2 separate regions of the Homo sapiens genome follow, and region 1 is linked to region 2. Evidence: promoter capture Hi-C in human tissues and cell types (Jung and others, 2019). All regions are on one chromosome and are shown on one strand. The core of a region is centred on a gene start or on the middle of the fragment in contact, and the rest is flanking DNA. Distances in the headings are between cores, read along the strand shown. Region 1 has its middle 150 kb from the start of PHLDA1-AS1. Region 2 holds the start of KRR1 (KRR1 small subunit processome component).

Region 1 (6,677 bases), core at 4,178-6,677, 370 kb after region 2:
TATGTACAACCACAAATAACACAATTAGATTTCTTTTCAAATGTTACAGAAATTCGTAAGAGGTGGCACTAAAGTTATTTAAAATCTACTACCCATCATGGAAGTTAAATTTTTTAAATGTGCACCGTGTAGCATTCAGTACCATAGTACAATCCTCCTTCTAGGAAATCATGTGGTGAAAGAAAAATCACCTAAAAAGCAGACAGTTCATGGACACCAGTTTGGCTACATCAAGCCATGAGTCTGTGGCTCCTGGAATCAATGAAAGAACATCCTGTGGGGTTCATTTCCATCTGAAACCAATAGTGATAGTTGTTAGTGCTGTCTGCCAAATATTTCTGGTTCTCCCTATTTCCAGGCACAGGACAGGATTGCCTTTTCTGGCCCCCTTATGGTTGTGTGGAACCACATGACTAGTTACAGCCAGTGACTTGTGAGCCAAAGGGAAATAAACTCCTTCTTATTTACTTGATAATTCAAGACTTTTAAGAGCTCTCTCCTTCCTCCAGCACAGTGACCAGAAGTAAGCTTTTGTTTGTTTGTTTGTTTGTTTGAGACAGGGTCTTGCTCTGTTACCCAAGCTGGAGTGCAGTGATGCAATCAGAGCTCACTGCAGCCTCAACCTCCTGGGCTCAAGTGATCCTCCTGCCTCAGCCTCTCGAGTAGTTGGGATCACAGGCATGTGCCACCAAGTCTGGCTAATTTTTTTTATTTTTTGTAGAGATGAAATCTTGCTGTGTTGCCCAGGCTAGTGTCTAATTCCTGAGCTCATGCAATCCTCCCATCTCAGCCTCCCAAACACTGGGATTAAAGGCATGACCAACTGCTCAGTATTAACGATGGATAATGCTCTATCTGTCTGGGTCCCAGAGTGAGTCTAGCTCCCAGGTATGGACACATCATGAACAGATAGCACAAGAGAATTAAGCCTATGTTGCTTTAGGCTGCTGAGATCTGGGGATAGTTTGTTACTGCAGCACTGCTTAGTTTATCTTGACTGATACAATGCTTCGTAAGTTTGGATCTTCTTGGTGCAGGGGTAATGTACACAAGAATAGACGACCATAACAGACTCCAAGAACTGACCTGATCTTCACTGGGAATTCCCCAAATCAAGGATTATGCTAGATCTCTCAGGCTGAAGACCCTAGCTCCTCTATCCCACATCCCTAAGCAGTTCTCTAAAGCCAAAAGGAAATTCAGGGTCTGTAGGCTTTCAAACTATTGTCCCCCCAACTAAATTGCTTCCGTGAGATAGGTTATTCCCTGCCTTCTTTCCCCAAAATGTTTTGGACATTCGATCCAACTGCCAAAATAAAATAACAAATCATGAGCAATACACTGAGGGAATTAGAGTAAAAGTTGTTTGTAGCTTCCATAGGATAGAAAGTTTGACAGGTTCATTCCCTTTTCAGTACTAAAGGCTGACATAGCACATAACCATCTTGGTATAGGACAGTTTTCCTCACAAAGCATTTATTTCAGGCTCTTCAATTATTAAAAATTACTTCTATAAAAAGTAAATATTTTAAGAAGAAATATTTCTTCAAGTCAGTGCTCATATTTTGATGGGAAGGGGAATTTCTTTCATTTTTTTGTTTATATTCACTGTTCATTTATCACAGCACTGGGCTGTCATGATAACAGCTTCTAAAAACAAGACTCCTTGACATTTTACCACAACCTTGGAAGACTGGGGATTTTTATCCACTTTTCACTCAGATGTATGATTTTATGTAATGTCAAAGAATTTTGAGTGCATTTTTTCAGAAAAAAAACTCTGCTAACCAGACTTATGATCAAACTAGAAACATTTTGACAGAGACCACCATTAGCAGAAAGTTATATGAAAAATAAAATGAAATGAGAAATGATGAAATACTGTTTTCTTTCTTTCTCTTTCTTTTTTTTAAAGCTGAGAGAGTCCATGGAAACAATAGCTTAGTAAACCTCTTACCCTCAACAACCGCGAGCTTCAGAAAATATTCTCTGAACTTAGCATTTGGAATAAGGCTTTATACTTAGCTCTTTGTTTTCTCCATCTCCTCTGATGGTAGTGATACGTTTTTTAAATGCCTAAAACCTTTCCTTGTACCTAAGAATTCCCTAGGTTTCATGAATTATTGCAAATGGGTAATCACAAGTGCAAATGAGGAATTTGTAACACAAGTACCCATCTGTGCATGCAATTAACTGCCTCCAGCAAGTAATTGCCTGTTTTTACAAAAGCCTACTTAGAAACCTCAACTTAAGAATGTATTTTTTTTAATAATTCTGCCATAACACACAGCAGAACTTTTTCTTGGGACCAACACTTTCAAACAAGCTGCCAAATAATCTATAATTTTTAATCTTATAAAGATTATACCTAAGCAGCCAATCCCACTGTAACTGATTCCAGAGGAGCCTGACACTTCTAGACATACTCAGGGAATTTTTCAATCAGTACCAGCCTTTTGTCCAAGAGACCCCAGCATGGCTAATCCTCATGGGAACTACTCCTGTTGAGGCACCTTTGGGAGATATCTGAAGCTTTTAGTATTGTTTTCATCAATTCATTCAAGAAATATCTGTTGAACACCTATGAAATACAAAGCCTTCTGTTCTAAGCTCCATGCAAAATATAAAAATGAATTTTAACATTGAATCTTCTCTTAAAGAACTTACAATCAGAAATAGAAGACTTAAAGCTAATTATTCAAAATCCAAGTACCTTTGTAATTCAATATTGTGAAGGTGTACCTGTTACCTTACTAGGCCACACCTACCTAGCAAAACAGTCATGTGTTTTGGGTAAAAATCATGCTTGCAGCAGGATCTGAGCCTCCGTTAAGTTGTGTCACTGATCCCCTACTCCCCTGAAATTGGCCTGCTTGCCTTCCCTTTGCAAGGTCCCCCAGTCTCCTTGATAGTCATAAACATTTTTCATTAGCTGCTATTGACTTTGCTCTCCTCCATCTGCTGCCAAAAGTCTTAATCCATGGCTATTTTTGATCTTGTGCCAAGCTGCTACTTCCTTGTTATTACCAAATACCCTATCGTTCCTCTCACCACTGTTGCCTTACCTTTAAATATCACCTACATACTGAAAACTCCCAAATTAAACTTCCCCTGATGCCCAGACTCATCTACCTGCTTGGTCAACGTCTCCACTTAGGTATCTGATTATCATGTCAGACTTGTTTCCTAAAACTGAACCAAACCTGCTCCTCCAATGATTTCCCCATCTCAGTGATGGACAGTTCCACACTTTAAAGTTACGATCATCCTTGCCTTCTCTCTTTCTCTCACACTAGACCTCCAATCTGTCAGCATATCTTTTTGAATCCACCATCAGAGGGGTCAGATTCCCACCACTTCTCACATCTCCACTGTTAACCACCCTGATCCAAGCTGCCATCTCCTCTTGCCTGGATTATTGTAATTGTCTCCCAATGGGGGCCCCTGCTTCTACCTTAGCCCTGCTAGAGTTATTCTCCCACTCAGTCATCAGATGGCCCTTTTAAACATCAGTATTTCACTCTTATGATCAGGGCTTTCCGTCTCACTTAGTCAAAGCAGAATTTCCTATAAGAATCAGCAGAATTTCCTATAAGAATCTACAAGATCCTTCATTGACTGCCCTACAACCCATCTTTCTTTTATCATCTTCCACACCACCACCACCCCCAGTCATTAGGATTCAGCAAAACTGGCTTCCATGTTCCTCCTTGCACACACTAGGCATGGACCTCTTCTCACATGTTGAGATCCTCTTCCCCAGGTGTCTGTGACTCATTCCCACCCTTCTTTCAGGTCCTCTTATCCTAGGGGTCTTCCCTGAGCTCTACAATAATTCCTGCCCCCTGCTCACTACCACTCTTCCAGTCCTGGACCCACTTTATTTTTGTCTGTAACCCTTCTTGCTGTATGATATATGCTTATTTTCTGCCTCCCTTATTAGAATACAAGTTTCACAAGGGCTGAAGTTTTGTTCTGCTAAGTTTTCTAGCATCTCAAATAATGCCTGCCACATAGCATTATGTGTGTATGAATGAATAAAAATGAACTAATGAACATTCCTAAGGTGAAAGAGGCTCCTCTCCCCATCAGAATTAAAATCCTTATTTGGCTTACAAAATAATGTCCTTGCCCTCTTTATTCTTATCTTTCTCATGCAGAAAAAACTGGAAGAATGTCTCAGATTGCCACAACTTGAAGAGTTACTCTCAAAGACAATAAACTAGCATCCTAGAATGCGGTCTGGGTTCCTCTAATCTCTAACCTCAGGTTGAATTCTTTGCCTTAAAGGATAATCCCCAAGAAGCTGAGGGAGCTCGTTGTTTGAGTCTTACCTTCACCGTTCTGGTGCTCAGGTTTCAGTCACCTTCCTCTTCCTGCGCTCTCCTAGGCCACCTGTCAGTTCTTCATGATAATAAGATCCCTAGTCAGCTCAAATCTCCTGCCTTAGGACTACCTTTGAAAACACATTATACACACAAGAAGAAAGGATGGAAAAAGTAAACTTTTTCACTTAACCTTATACTTACCCCTTAAATTCAAAAAGCAATAGCGTTGATTAACACTAAGCTCAAATTTTCAGATACTCAACTTTCTCACTAGGAAACTGAAGCACTATCTTCCTCAGTAGGTAATTATAAGTTGCTAAGGAGATGTGACAAAGTGATTGAAGGAAACCAAAAGGGATACAATCTTCAGAATCCAACCACTTTTAAAAAAGAGTAAAAATGAAAAGAAACTCTCCCAAATGCCAAGAGAAATATAAAAACAAATTATATATGAATTGATGTGCTAAAAAGACTGTGCTCTGCTAAAATTGGGGTACTATTTTTAAAGATTTAGTTTGATTTATTCCATTATGTCTAAGGTAAAAAAAAAAAAAAAGTTTGAACCATTATCAAAGCTCAGCAAATCAATTTCAGTATGTGCCTTTCAAAAATTTCTCTTACATCTAAGTTAATAAGCTTACTTTTTAAAATTATGGTTCAAAAACTTAATTGGATAAAGATATTATTGTATATTTTCCATTTATGTACCAATAATGTAGCTTTCCCTATTTTTAAGATACAGCAAGTTACAGAACATAATTCTGTTGTTCAACAACAATAAGATTTGAGGAAGAAGAGAAAGAAAACAAGAACGAATTACTAAAATAGAGAAAATTCTATGGCAAAAAAGTTTCCTTTCTATAGTTTAAATACTGGCCCTTCTGCATGAAATAACAAAATAGTTTTTATTTTTCTGAGTTGGAGTCTTGATCTTGTTGCCCAGGATAGAGTCCAGTGGTGCAATCTCAGCTCACTGCAACCTCTGCCTCCCGGGTTCAAGCGATTCTCCTGCCTCAGCCTCCCAAGTAGCTGGGATTACAGGTGCCCGCCACCACACCTGACTAATTTTTGTATTTTTAGTAGAGATGGGGTTTCACCATGCTGGTCAGGCTGGTCTCAAACTCCTGACCTTATGATCCACCCACCTTCGCCTCCCAAAGTGCTGGGATTAGAGGCGTGAGCCACTGCGCCCAGCCCAAAATTTTTCTTATTATAAAACTTTCTCACAAAGGCAAAATCAAGCTACGTATGAAGAAGAAGGGGTAGGAAACAATAGGAGGCCCTTTTACAATAAATAGCCCTATGGTTTTTGCTTTCTTACTGGATAAGAAAGCAATAAAAGCATTCTTTACTGCAAAAAAAAAAAAAGTTTATGCTTTACTGCAATAAAAGCACAATTACATGGATGGGGTGCTCTGGGGGCCTGCAGAGCATTTAATCACAGATTTTCCCCCTCAGGTTCTGATTCTACAAAAAGGACATTAAATAAAGTGCCACATGTTCACATTTTCAGTTTAATTACCTCTTTAAAATGCTAAGATTTTTGAGCCACATGGGACTCATGTAGATTTTCAATTACATAGGAATCAATATTTTAAATCATTACATTCTCATTACACCTTCCTGCAGTTCATGCATTACCCTATCTATATTTAATATTATGCGTTTAAATAACTTGCCTAAGCCCATTTAACAAGTTAGTAAAAGAACAAAAATGAGACTTGCCGCAGCAATTCTGCATACTAGCTGAGTGACCTTGGGTTGGAATCCAAACCCCTGTGGGTCCCTATAAAAGAAGAAAGTTAGACCAGAAGATCACAGCATCTTTTCTTGCCTAATAGCCAATGATTTCCTATTCTTGATTTTACACTCAAACCTCTTATCTGTAATGTGTTTGAAGGTAAGACTCTCAAAATTCAGCATTATTGTCTCTCTCCGAGGACATCCTGAAGATAAGCCCTTCAAGCTCTTCGTCAACCAAAACCCTCATTTATATGAGTGCTTATTCCTTTTATAATTTCTTGAAAGAAGTTTTTTGACATCAGTGAAAATGAACACCCTCTCTGTTCACTATATCCAATAACCCATAGTATAACACTACCATCCTCAGACCTTTCCAAGTCTTCCTCTTTCACCTCTCAGCTCTCATTGAGCTAAACAATTTTGATTCTTCTTGATTTTTCTCCATAATTTGTTTTCCTACACCTTTGTCATTTTCTTCAGCCTTTGAATTATCCATCTTTAAGTAATATAATATGGAAACCTAATTTATTGTTTGAGTAGAAAATGTCCTTGTTCTCCCAATATGTTAGGAATTACTTTTTCACTCCAATGCAGGGAAATGTGGTG
Region 2 (6,401 bases), core at 140-2,639:
TTGGAAAAAAGTTAGCATTACTTACACACACCCTACACTTCAGTGATTCCAATCCTATGTTCACAACCTAGAGAAACCCTTGAACATGTTAACCAGAAGACATGTACAAAGATGTTTTAGCAGTATTGTTTATAATTGCAAGCAATTGGGAACAATCCAAATGTCCACCGATAGTAAAATGAAAAAATAAATTGGGGTATATTCATACAAGGAAACACCACATAACAGTGAAAAGACTAAAACTACACCCGCAAGTATCACCCTGTTTGAAAAACAAAAAGCTAAATCTAAGAAGACACAGAAAAATGCATACGGTCCACTTTCATGTATATAAAATTAAAAAACAGGCTAAATTAAGCCACTTCATGACTACAAGAAGAGGAACAGAATGCAACACAATTCAGGGTGGTTACGTCTGATACAGGAAAAGAGAATATGATCTGAGAGGTGCACGTAAGGGTTTGAGGGGTATGGTAATGCTCTATTTTACTTAGTCTGAATGCTAGTTTCCCGCATGGTTTTATTAAACTCTATATAAGTTGTATCCCCTGCTATGTACGTTACATAATCATTTAATGAGCAACAACAAAGAAACTTTGAATACTTTCCCAATGCATCTAAATTGAGAGTTCAATGTTTTTAACACTTCCTATAAGCCTGGTTGAACAGATCCCCAGGCTATTTATGACTTCTCTATCATTCACACTGAAGAAAACGGGTAAAACCAGACTACAACGCAGGAGTTAACAATTAAAAGGTAACACAACCTAAACAGTAAGGGCTGTGTCGTCTAATATTTTAGCATCTGACAAACAGGAATTGATAATCTTTCAAAATGTCTTTACTGACAAACTAGAGCTAAGGACATGTCGGATAGCTCCTTTCCCCATACCTCACCCCATTATCAGGGTCCACTCTTGTATATCATGACTACCTATTCCCACCTCACCCTATTCCTCATTCCGTCAGTGACTTTCAGCCACCCGCAGGCTTACAAGGTTCTGCGTCGCCCTAGGCATTTTCTTAATACTCATCCTTTTACAAAAGACGTAATCCGCAACAGCTTCGCTTTGGGGACCCTTTAGCAAAAGCAATGAATTAGGAACACCTGGGTGGCACCATATCGGCCAGCCGTTCCTGTGGGCCCAGCCAAAATCTTATCAGCGATTATTCAGGTACTCAACTACACAGTACAGGCTCCAGGTGGTTTTATAAGTCCACGAGGAACGAAAGAAAAAAACATCGCAACTCAACGTACACAAACCCCAGGCTTCGGTTCCCACATAACATCACCTTGGTTCTCCGGCTTCGGCTTCTGGTTACGAAATTCACTTTTTCCAGCGCCTTTTTCTGGCCGCTCCAGCGAGGGAGACGCCATTTGCAAGCTGCTTCCGGTGGCTCCGGAAATGAAACTGTTCTTAAACCCTACCGGCTAAAACGCCTACACTCAAAATGAGTTCCGCGGAACTCAGACGAGGAGATCTGCGCAGTCTCCGTGCGTACGTGCGTTAAGCCCGCGCTTTTACACAAACCACAGCTTCTCCTACGTGGCCAATGAAGAGCCGGAGACTTTCTCCCAGTATGCCCTGAAACCATGGAGTTTGCGTACTGGGACTTGTAGTTTAGCAGGCGGTATAGGCAAATTGGATACTGTTTTATCCGTAGTTTCCTCGTGGCCTCACGGCCTAACCTGGACCATCGGACAGCGGAGTGCTACCAACCTGTCATTGATGTCATTCATTCTTTCGATAAATATTTATATGTTGGCCAAATATGCGCTAGATGTTGGGAGGAAGTACAAATATGAGAATACAATGTATATTGGGCCTCCACTGCAACAAGTGACAGGAATAGCTACTATTTATTGTGAGACTACTTTGTTTCAGTACTTTATTTACATTATTTCTAATTTTAAAAACAGTGACAAAATTAAACTTTTCAAAGTTGTTTCTGATGGTAATCTTCCCGAGTGTTGGTATTTCTCTAAGTCAGAGGGATGGTAATTCAACATCCTGACGTTTCTGAAGTATTTCAACTAGCCTAAGATTTCTCAAAATCTCTAAACTCCTTTTCTACCCCCAACATTACATAGGGCTAAGATGTGTAGAGAGGTTCATCACTAACTACAAATAACTACACTTTTGGAAGTATAAGAGTTCTTCGACATGCCAAATATAAGATTTTTTTAAATTTTGATTTTATTGCTTGCATTTCTAAAATTTTCTGCAGCAAATAGGGAAAGTCTTTGATAGGTTAAATTCCTTGCATTAGTGAAATACACGTTTGTCTGATAAATCCACTCTCGTGTATCTTATACAATAATTTAGGTTTTCATATATGAGATCCAGGTATGAAACAGATTGTTACATATGGACAGAAGAACCCACGACAGAGGGGTTTTTTGTTTTTATCCTGTGAGTTTTATAAATGACAGGGATTTTATCTCTGTTCTTTTAATTTCCTCAAAAAATGATAAATTCCTAAAATAGAACAGATAGCAGCAGGTGAAAGTTATAAAGTGAGGAGTACACCTCATGAAGCAGGTTTTTATCATTCTTATTTTAAGTAACTCAATCACTAATAAGTGGAAGGCCCGTCTTCAAGTTCAGGCAGTTTGACCTAGCAGCTTCAGGGGGCTACTATTCATTAGGAGCTTCAAATGTGTTAGAGGGCTGATAGGGATTAAGGGGAGGGAATAGTCTAGAAATAATATTTGTGTTAAAGCCCTTTATTTTATAGCAAAATTTTCTACATAGGCTTTTCTTCCCATTTACGTGTATATTTTTAATCTTAGTATTGCTATTATTTGAGGAATATTGAGAATATGATGGAGATGGGAAAACGAAAACCCACCCATCCTTTTCTTGGCACTATTGAGTCTGTTTGTAAAACCCAACCTTTTAATTACCATACTATGCAGAGCCCACAGTTCACCTGTCCCTTTTTGAAATTTTTACATCTTTTTCCAAATCATTACTGAAAGGGGTGTAAAAACATGGATAATAATTGAGTTCTAAGATTCTCTAACGTCCTCAAGACCTCCTATTATAGATGACACCACACTAAAACTGTCTGCTTTCCAAAGGAAAAGATTCATCAGGCTCCTACAATAAGTTATTTCAGTATTAAGTGATTCTTTCCCTTCCCTAACTCAAAAGCCCTCATGTTGTCCACCAACTGAATATACAATATAAAAACAATATATGATTGGAAGTTAAGTGAATTTTTTTAAGTCTGTTACTTGCCTTCCAGAACCCATAATCTAACACAAGTTATATCACAGGAATAGGGAGTTATCTTACATATAGGATATAAAAGCTTTTACTAAAAAATGAATCCTGCAACAAAAATCACAAATTAATTTAAAAATATTAATTATAATGACTATTAATCATATACTGAAGGGTATATATAATTATACAGTACTTTTTCCTCTGTGATAATATGAGATAAAATATAGCAAGATACTAATTTGATGCTAGTAGTTATAAGAAGTAATGTATAAAAATTAAATGAATAGAAAATTGCATGAGACTGAGAGGCTGAAGCTTTTCCTTAGTACACATACATTTTTTTTTCAGTTTTAAAACAGACTCTGATGCTTAAATATTGTTACTCATTAACTGAATTTTCATATTTTGGCTTGACAAGCAGGAATAGCACATATATATATACTTACTAAAAATTAAAATTGACAGTCAAATTGAATGAGAACAACGTTTCAACAATTTGCTTAGACTATGTTTTAAGCAATTTTGAAGAAAAATTTTAAAATAAACGTGGTATGGAATAAACAAATTCCGAAATTAATTCGACTAGTTCTTCTAAGAATTAAACATTGTAACCAATATTACATATGAGTAGTTTAAACTTTTAAAACCTCTTAACAATAGTTTCCACATGTGGGAACTATTTGCTCTAGATTCCTTACTTTGGAAAAGAGCAGATCTAATTTCAACATCTTCCAAAAATTCATTAGAATTGAAAGAACAATTTGATTTTAAATAAATATTGAATAATGACTAAAAATTATAAATATTTATTGAATACATATTGAAAATAAATATTGAAAAATCTCCTAAAATCACCTTAGAAGACTATAAACTCAAAAGTGATTATCAAAATGACAGTGTCCAAATTTTCATCTCAATTTCAATGATTCACTGATTATAAAGTATTCAAAATAATAATTTAAAATTTAAAATGATGAGAAATAGGGTAAAAAAATAAAGGATATAAAAGAGGGCAAAATATTCGCAAAACATTTAATGGGTTGATTACAATAATATTCAAGGCGATAAAAAGATGTAAGCAATTCAATCAAAAAATGAGGAAAGCCCGAGGGCAGTGGCTTACGCCTGTAATCCCAGCACTTTGGGAGGCCGAGGCGGGCGGATCACGAGTTCAGGAGATTGAGGCCATTCTGGCTAACACGGTGAAACCCCGTCTCTATTAAAAATTCAAAAAATTAGCGGGGCATGGTGGCACGCACCTGTAGTCCCAGCTACTAGGGAGGCTGAGGCAGGAGAATCGCTTGAATCCAAGAAGCAGATGTTGCAGTGAGCCGAGATCATGCCACTGCACTCCAGCCTGGGTGACAGAGCAAGACTCCATCTCAAAAAAAGAAAAGAAAAACGGAAAATATATTAGTAGATATTTGTGATGGTTAATTTTAAGTGTTAACTTGACTGGGTAATATTGTCCCGATATTTGGGCCTACATTATTATGGATGTTTCTGTGAGAGTACTTTTAGATGAGATTAACATTTAAATCAGTGAACTTTGAGTAAGGTAGATTGTCCTCTATATACTGTGGGTGGTCCTCATCCAATCAGTTGAAGACCTGAATAGAACAAAAACATTGACCTCCCCTGAGAAAGAAGAATTGTGCAGCAGAAGTCCCTTGTACTTGAATTGCAGCATTGTCTTGTCTTTGTCTCCAGCCTGCCAGCCTACCGTGCAGATTTTGGACTCGCCAGCCTCCATAATCATGTGAACCAATTTTTTAAAATAAATAAAAATAAATTACACACACACACACACACACACACACACACACACACACATTGGTTTTGTTTCTCTGGAGAGCCCTAATACAACAATTTATAGTAGAGCTAATCCAAATGACTGACGAACATATGATGTTCAACCTCACTACTGTCAACAAAGTATACAGACTTAACAATGAAATATCACTTCTCACCCACCAGATTGAAAAAAAAGAAAAGAAATAAAAAACATACATTTAAAAAAAATACTGCTAGAGGAAAGAATAGTCTCATACATGGCTAGTGCAAATGTAAACTGTTACTGCCTTTTTGCAGAGCAATTTAGCAATATAAAATACACACATATGGTTCTGCAGTAATTCCACACCAGATAAACTATTGAATAGAAATAAAGGACCATTCAATTAGAATGTTTCTACAATAGTGTTGATTACTACCTTCTATAAAAGTAGTTTAGTGAAATATACTTTGGAGCCATACTGACTAGTTTGCCACCTATTGGCTATATAGCCTGGGGCGTTTCTTACCTACTCCTGCTCAGTTTTCTAAAATGGGGAGAATAACCTAACCCCTCAGTAGCTTAATACATGTAAAGCGCAAAAAAAAAAAAAAAAAAACTTAGCACATGATAAACACTTAATAGGTGTTAGCTATTATTGTTTATACTGGCAAAAAGTAAAAGCATTTAAACTATCAATTAGGGATCTAGTTAAATAAATTGATATTACTTTCATAACCATGGGCTATTATACAACCATTTATAAGAATTAAATCTATATGAAAAAATACATAGAATATTGAGCAATAAAAGCCAGATATGTAATATAAACATACACATACACACACGTATATATAATATGATCTCATTTTTCTAAGGCAAACCATTCATTTATTCAACAAATATTTACTGAGCATCTATGACATTCAAGACACTGTTCTAAATACTTGGTTATATTCTATGTGCTGAATATAATATATGAATACATGAGTTTGTATGTGATTGTACAATAAAAAAATTGGGACAGATACACATTAAGATTTTAAGACTGGCTAACTTAGAGATGAAGATGATTAGAAAAGAAGATGAAACTAGGCAAAAAGACAGAAGAAGATGTCCATGATAAAATAGCATGTATAAAATGATACTATTTACATACAACTGTATGTGTGTGTGTGTGTGTGTTTGTGTGTTTCTGTATGAAAAGATGGTCATCTAAATGTTGACTATGTTACCTCTCAGTATAGAGACATTTCAAAGTATGGCAATTAAATGGCAATACAGTTGTAAATCAATCACAATATACATCATTTTTCTTTAACATCCTAGGAAATCTGAACATAAATATGTAAATAAATAAGCAAATAGAATATGTACTTAAATGACACTAAAAG

Evidence for each region. Contacts are between HindIII fragments. The study calls those that stand out against the background at their distance.
Region 1: a fragment that was not itself captured here is called in contact with the fragment with the promoter of KRR1 in region 2 in 2 of the 25 tissues and cell types used here (heart left ventricle and mesendoderm cells).

The regions. Positions count from the first base shown.
Region 1 is chr12:75,880,462-75,887,138 of GRCh38, forward strand. No RefSeq gene overlaps it. Among named protein-coding and RNA genes, the nearest start is that of PHLDA1-AS1, 150 kb to the right of the region's middle. The HindIII fragment of the contact is 7,794 bases long and covers 1,531-6,677 here.
Region 2 is chr12:75,510,220-75,516,620 of GRCh38, forward strand. It overlaps KRR1 (KRR1 small subunit processome component), which reads right to left and starts at 1,390. Exons shown (of 10, transcript NM_007043.7): 1 at 1,294-1,390. The coding sequence starts at 1,378. RefSeq lists enhancers at 603-1,147, 1,148-1,691, 1,198-1,357. The HindIII fragment of the contact is 10,159 bases long and covers 1-6,401 here.